2 separate regions of the Homo sapiens genome follow, and region 1 is linked to region 2. The links are contacts of gene promoters, found by promoter capture Hi-C in human tissues and cell types (Jung and others, 2019). All regions are on one chromosome and are shown on one strand. Each heading gives the region's core, a stretch centred on a gene start or on the middle of the fragment in contact. The rest is flanking DNA. Distances are from core to core; before and after follow the strand shown. Region 1 overlaps A2ML1-AS1 (A2ML1 antisense RNA 1). Region 2 holds the start of A2ML1 (alpha-2-macroglobulin like 1).

Evidence for each region. The method cuts DNA at HindIII sites, captures the fragments that hold promoters and counts their contacts. A contact is called where the count stands out against the background at its distance.
Region 1: a contact is called between a fragment that was not itself captured here and the fragment with the promoter of A2ML1 in region 2, in 3 of the 25 tissues and cell types used here (H1 embryonic stem cells, mesendoderm cells and thymus).

What each region holds. Positions count from the first base shown.
Region 1 is chr12:8,782,382-8,785,806 of GRCh38, forward strand. All of the region lies in intron 1 of A2ML1-AS1 (A2ML1 antisense RNA 1), which reads right to left. It also overlaps a transcript of RIMKLB not described here. Among named protein-coding and RNA genes, the nearest start is that of LINC02972, 4.2 kb to the right of the region's middle. The HindIII fragment of the contact is 5,071 bases long and covers 1-3,425 here.
Region 2 is chr12:8,820,208-8,823,974 of GRCh38, forward strand. It overlaps A2ML1 (alpha-2-macroglobulin like 1), which reads left to right and starts at 2,414. Exons shown (of 36, transcript NM_144670.6): 1 at 2,414-2,506; 2 at 2,975-3,158; 3 at 3,513-3,675. The coding sequence starts at 2,445. The region is part of intron 1 of A2ML1-AS1 (A2ML1 antisense RNA 1); the gene reads right to left. The HindIII fragment of the contact is 7,738 bases long and covers 1-3,767 here.

The sequences.
Region 1 (3,425 bases), core at 899-3,398, 38 kb before region 2:
CGGAGACATCTTTGTGGTTTTATACACACACACATATATATATTTAACATAAGCTGTCTAAAATAAGTCACAAAACTTGCAGATTAGAAAAGGAAGCACATTTTGGCTGTTTTGGTGTCAGCATCTTAATTAAGTAGAAAATATTATGGACCTATAAATTGAACTTGCGACTGTTCACTCACTAGAGAGAACAATTTCCAGGGAGTTAGAATAGTTTTTCCTGAAGGAGAGTCAAATAAATTTGGGAAATAAGGTTGCTCTTGTAAAACAGTAATAGATTTAGCTTTTATTTTTTAATGATAAGAACATTAAATGTCTTCTAAGTCAGAATCAGAGTATATCTTTGTTAACTGAGCTCACCAAGACAAAGTGATAATAACACAAAACTGTGGTTTTTGGTAGTCTAATCAATTTAGAATGTTTTATTGTCATGTTAGTTGATTTTCTGTCTTTATTTGTATTTTTTCTTATCCTGGTTATAGAGACTTTTAAAATCTATGATTTAAATAAGTTGTGTTTTTCCCCCCTAGGTTCTTTTGAAGTAACCAGTGATCTTTTTTGCTTACCCTCATCAACAGAATGGATGAAGATAGATTTGACTGTGTGCTTTTTCAAGTGGAGAATATGAATATACAGAACAAGAAAGCAATAACTCCAACCTGTTTGATTCCGTCTGTTTTCTAAATAAAGACACTATGCGCTGGAAATAACATAGCATGCCGTGTGACTTGTTCTTTATATCAGTTCACTTTGGTCCAGATATCTAGACTTGATTTCTAGCTCCACATGTCATTCCCTTTTTTTCTACTCTTCGCCTTTTGCTCTTGAGTCCTTTGGTTCTTAACAGACTGATTTCTATGATACCTTCTAAAATGATTACTCCTCTTTTGGCACATAGGTGAGCACTATTCAATGGATTTTCCCCTGTCCTTTTTAATCACACTTTTATCTGTCCATGCTGAATAGTTGTTGCTGTACTTTTTAATCTCTGAAGAAATGCAAACTTTTTAAAAATTTCACCCTGAACATCATAGAGTGTACTTACACCTATATGGTACAGCCTACTATACACCTGGGCTATGTGGTATAGCTTACTGCTTGTAAGCTACTATCCTGTAGAGCATGTGAATACTGTAGACAATTGCAACGCAATGGCAACTATCTTATTAAAATTTAATGGCCGGACACGGTAGCTCATGCCTGCAATCCCAACACTTTGGGAGGCTGAGGCGGGCAGATCATTTGAGGTCAGGAGTTCAAGACCAGCCTGGCCTGGAAACCCTGTCTCTACTAAGAATACAAAAAATTAGTGGGGCATGGTAGCGGGCACCTGTAATTCCAGCTACTTGGGAAGCTGAGGCAGAATCCCTTGAGCCCGGGAGGCAGAGGTTGCAGTGAGCCAAGAACACACCACTGCACTCCAGCCTGGGCGACAGAGTGAGACTCCGTCACCAAAAAAAAAAAAAAAAAAAGCATGATGCTGGGCATGGTGGCCTACGCCTGTAATCCAGCACTTTGGGAGGCCCAGGTGAGCAGATTGCTTGAGGTCAAAGAGTTCGAGACCAGCCTGACCAACATGGTGAAACCCTATCTATCTCTACTAAAAATTATATATATAAAAATCAGCCAGGCATGGTGGCGCATAATCTCAGCTACTCAGGAGGCTGAGGCAGGAGAATCGCTTGAAAAGCCTTAGCTGGGCATGGTGCCTCACGCCTGTGATGCCAACACTGGTAGGTTGAGGTGGGCGGCTCACTTGAGCCCAGGAGTTCAAGACCAGCCTGGGCAACATGGTAAAATCCGGTGTCTACAAAAAAATGAGCCCAGCGTGGTGGTGCACACTTGTCCCAGCTACTCAGGAGGCTGAGGTGGCAGGATCACCTGAGCCCAGGAGATCGAGGCTGCAGTGAGCCATGATCATGCCATTGCACTGCAGCCTGGGTAACAGAGTAAGACCCTGTCTCAAAAAAAAACACTTTGATTATCATCATTTAACAAGTTTATTGTTAAAGCATGCATGGTAGTGTCACCTTGGATCCTCCAAAAGGCAGACACCAAGGTGGAGTCAGATACACTAGAGCTGTACTGAGGGAAATGCCTGTGAGGGATACAAGGGAGAGGGATCAGTAGGCAGGGAAGGCCTTCAGAATGCAATGTGCATGTGACAGAAGAGAGAGAAGAGAACTCAAACCTCAGCTGCTCTGAGAGTCTCCCAGCCTGATGAGGAATCTCAGAGCAGATTACCTATTAAGAGCAGTCCCAGATTGGGCAGAGATGGCCTGACTACTAGTCCAGAGCAGCCTGGGGAGAACACATGGTTTTCATGTGAGTGCTGTAACAGATCAGGAGGACTAGCAGCTGGTGGCTGTCAGATTTGTTACTTGCATCCAGTTTTCTTGAGAACTGAGTGGCACAATTCCACTCCTTAACACTGCACAGATCCACTTTACACCTTTGGGTAGCCCCTCCACAGTTCCATGAGCTTCTGATATAAACTCCACATCACATTGCATCTTTTCCTGCCACTGATACCCTCTTATACTATAAAGTTTATCAGATCATGTGGTCCAGTTTGTAGGGCTGCTTGCATCATAGCCTGAATCTTAATTTTCAACAGCCCTTTCTTGCTCCAAGGCCCTACTCAAGCCTAACATTTTTTTCATGTCATTTACTATATGGGTTGGAGTAGTGTTTCTAGGTGGAATGTCTTGCTTTCTGAATCTAGAGAACCCCAGAGTTACAGTGCTTGCTTCCTTGTAGCAGGTGATGCAAAATGTAGTGTGTCTTTTTACTTTGTAGAGTATTCCAGCATGCCCATGTCCCCTGGTCTCCTAGAACCCTTAAAGGAATGGCAGATCCTGGCCGGGAGCATTGGCTCACCCGGTGGCTCTGGGATTACAAAGCCTGTAATCCCAGCACTTTGGGAGGCCGAGGCGGGTGGATCATGAGGTCAGGAGTTTGAGACCAGCCTGGCCAAGATGGTGAAACCCTGTCTCTACTAAAAATACAAAAATTAGCCAGGCGTGGTGGCGCGCACCTGTAGTCCCAGCTACTTGGGAGGCTGAGGCAGGAGAATTGCTTGAACCCAGGAGGCGGAGGTTGCAGTGAGCCGAGATCGTACCATTGCACTCCAGCCTGGGCGACAAGAGCAAAACTCCATCTTAAAATAAAAAAAAAAAAAAAGGAATTGCAGATCCCCAAATCTATGTAGAGTTTCTCTCTCACCTGGGACACATAGCAAGGCTTCCGGTGTGCTAGCTACCTTACATTCATTTTGCTTATTTAGCATGATGTCATTGATGTAATGTTCTATGGAATGCCCAGATGGCCCACGTATTAGGCCATTCTTGCATTGCTATAAAGAAATACCTGAGACTGGTTAATTTACAAGAAAAGAATTGGCTCATGTTCCTACAGGAAGCATA
Region 2 (3,767 bases), core at 1,164-3,663:
GTCAGACCTAACCGACTCTATCTTGCTTCTAACCCTTAAGCTGTCCTTGTTTATTCCTGGGCATAGGCCGAAGTAACTTTGGGAAGGAATTCAGTTCATGGTTTGACTCTGAAACAAAATTGATAACAGCCCTTTCCCAAAAAGACCCCCTTCTTGCCCGGGGTCCAGTCTGCCTTTGTAGGACTAACAGATTAGCTACAAGATTAGAAATTACAGTTTAGAGGCCGGGTGCAGTGGCTCGCGCCTGTAATCCCAGCACTTTGGGAGGCCAAGGCGGGCGGATCACGAGGTCAGGAGATCGAGACCATCCTGGCTGACACGGTGAAACCCCGTCTCTACTAAAAATACAAAAAATTAGCCGGGCGTGGTGGCGGGCGCCTGTAGTCCCAGCTACTCGGGAGGCTGAGGCAGGAGAATGGCGTGAACCCGGGAGGCGGAGCTTGCAGTGAGCCGAGATCGCGCCATTGCACTTCAGCCTGGGCGGTAGAGCCAGACTCTGTCTCAAAAAAAAAAAAAAAGAAATTACAGTTTAGAGGTCATGCAGCCTCTGGCTCCAAGAGTCTGAACCTCCCCAAATTGCTCCTGGGGATAACATCACTGCTGTAAAACCTAAGATCAGTAATTGAGTTATTTTGCAGGCCCTGCACTCCATGGGATCAGCTGACACCACACAGACCAGTCATCTGGCCCAACCAGTTCTGCCATCTCACCCAGGAACAGAAGACATTAAGAAAATCTAACTTCGACCCTCTATGATTCCATCTCCAACCTGAGCAATCAGCACTCCCCACTTCCCAAGCCCCTACCTGCCAAATTATCTTTAAAAACTCTGATCCACGAAGGCTCAAGGATTTAAGTAATAATAAAACTCCAGTCTCCCACACAGCCGGCTCTGCGTGAATTACTCTTTTGCCATTGCAGTTCCCCTGTCTTGATAAATCGGCTCTGTCTAGGCAGCAAGCAAGGTGAATCCATTGGGTGGTTACAAAACGGGGTCTCACTATGTTGCCCAGGCTGGTCTCAAACTCTTGGGCTCAAGCAATCCTCCAGCTTCTGACTCCCAAAAGCTGGGATTATAGGCATGAGCCACTGCACTTAGACTAATTTATATTTTAGGTGACTTCTAAGTATTACCATCATAAAGAACACTGTGGGCTGGGCACGGTGGCTCATACCTGTAATCCCAGCACTTTGGGAGGCTGAGGTGGTCCCTGGAGCTCAGGAGTTCGAGACTAGCCTGGGCAACATGGTGAAACCCTGTCTCTATTAAAAATACAAAACAATTAGCCAGGAGTGTTGGTGCCTACCTGTGGTCCCAGCTACTCAGGAGGTGGAGGTGGGAGGATCGCTTGAGCCCAGGAGGTCAAAGCTGCAGTGGGCTGAGATTGTGCCACTGCACTCCAGCCTGGGTGATAAAGTGAGACTCTACTTCAAAAAAATAAAAAATAAAGAAAAGAAAAAAAAGAAAGAACAGTGTGAAAAAACTCAGTGTTACACTTGTGCATACATGCATGCTGTCCTTTTTTTCCTCATTAAGAAACATTTCCAGAGTAGGAGTTGCTGAGTGAAAGAATATGCAAATCTCAAAGGCTTTGGTGTGTATTACAAAATTGCCATGAGAAAGTTATCCACATTCTATTTTCTCTAGGACTGTGTGTGTCCCTATTTCCATACAGTCACAACAATACTGAGTAGTATTAATTTTTTTTTTTTTTGAGACAGAGTCTCGTTGTGTCACCCACGCTGGAGTAAAGTGGCATGATCTCGGCTCACTGCAACCTCCACCTCCCGGGTTCAAGCGATTCTCCTGCCTCAGCCTCCCAAGTAGCTGGGACTATAGGCACCCACCACTATGCCCAGCTGATTTTTTTTTCTTTGTATTTTTAGTAGAGACAGGGTTTCACTATGTTGGCCAGGCTGGTCTTGAACTCCTGACCTGGTGATCTGCCCACCTCAACCCCCCAAAGTGCTGGGATTACAGGCGTGAGCCACTGTGACCGGCCAAGTTTACTGCTTTTCTATTGAAACTGTTCTCATACCCGTGTTCCCAACTACACCTTAATTGAATAATAAAAGAAAATAAGGACATTAAATGAGAACAGGAATTGGAATGAGACCAGAAAAAAAGGGAGGAGTTCAAAATATGTTCTGAGAGCTTTACCATTATGAATACTCAGCTCTGGTTTTCCCCCAAAACTGGCTGAACCAGTATGGATGTTCCAGGCAGAAACAACTTTAAAGAAGTGAATAGTGGCCCTACCCTGGTCCACCACCTAACCTGGTGGTTACAGAAGGAGGAACACAGTCCTCCTGTGTTCCAGGTGCCAGGAGGTGACTGACTATAGCATCAGTCATCACTGCACACCCTACCTGGAATTAGTATATAAAGCTACGCGGAGCGATCTCTGCCCCTGACCCTGGAAAAATCTGTCTCACCCACAAAGATGTGGGCTCAGCTCCTTCTAGGAATGTTGGCCCTATCACCAGCCATTGCAGAAGAACTTCCGTGAGTGCTTGGTGTCAGAATTGGTTTATTAGGGCAGCGGCTTCTTCGCCTAACTTTCTCAAACATTTATATGGAGATGGGGAGATCAACTTTGGTTTATCTTAATTTCCTCCTCCTTTTTTCTCTTCTTTGGTTCCACTGATCCTTTACCCAGAGAGGGAGGCTGACGCATGAAGAGGAAGCTTTAAAAAAGATAAATATTAAAATGTGCCCTGTTTTCTGAAATAGGCCTAATTTCCTCCTTGGTGCTCTAGGCATGTGTGCTCGGTGAGGGCCTCCTGATGGCGGAAGTTGAAGACTGTGCACTGAGTCGTTGCCCCTCTGCTTCTTGTAGAAAATGAGGTGCATAAGGAAGGCAGGGGCTTGGTCTGTCTAATTCACTGCTACTTGCTGAGCGCTTAGGAGAGTGCTGGATTTTTCGAGTGAATGAATCATTATTGCCCTGAAATCCTTCTGCTCCTTTAATAGAAACTACCTGGTGACATTACCAGCCCGGCTAAATTTCCCCTCCGTTCAGAAGGTTTGTTTGGACCTGAGCCCTGGGTACAGTGATGTTAAATTCACGGTTACTCTGGAGACCAAGGACAAGACCCAGAAGTTGCTAGAATACTCTGGACTGAAGAAGAGGCACTTACATTGTATCTCCTTTCTTGTAAGCACAGACTCAGCCCTCACTCGAATCCCTTACTTGCCTATTCTCCTCCCTAGGCTCACTATAATCTACTTTAAGTATAATTTCTGTTATCTTTTGCCACGGCCTCTAAACCTATTTTTTCTCAACTTAACCTCAATCCCCGGCTATAACTCACCCACGGTTTCCTCGACCTAGGATTTCTCCCTTTAGTTCCTGACCTTAATTCTTCCTCGTGGTAATTTGTTTTATGTCTCTATCCTTGCTACCCCCATCTAACTCAGCTCTTTCCTTTAACTCACTGTTGGGTTGAGACCAGTTGATTCTGTTCCCCCAATCCCTTACCCCTCCCCAGAAGTCCCCTTTCTTGGTCAGGTACCACCTCCTGCTGGTGGCACAGAAGAAGTGGCCACAATCCGGGTGTCGGGAGTTGGAAATAACATCAGCTTTGAGGAGAAGAAAAAGGTTCTAATTCAGAGGCAGGGGAACGGCACCTTTGTACAGACTGACAAACCTCTCTACACCCCAGGGCAGCAAGGTAAGAGTCACATATTTGGGGTTCGACTAAAACCTGGGGAAACCGCTGTGCACAGGGGTAAAGAGGGGATTTGTGGTTTGACAGTAGGCTTT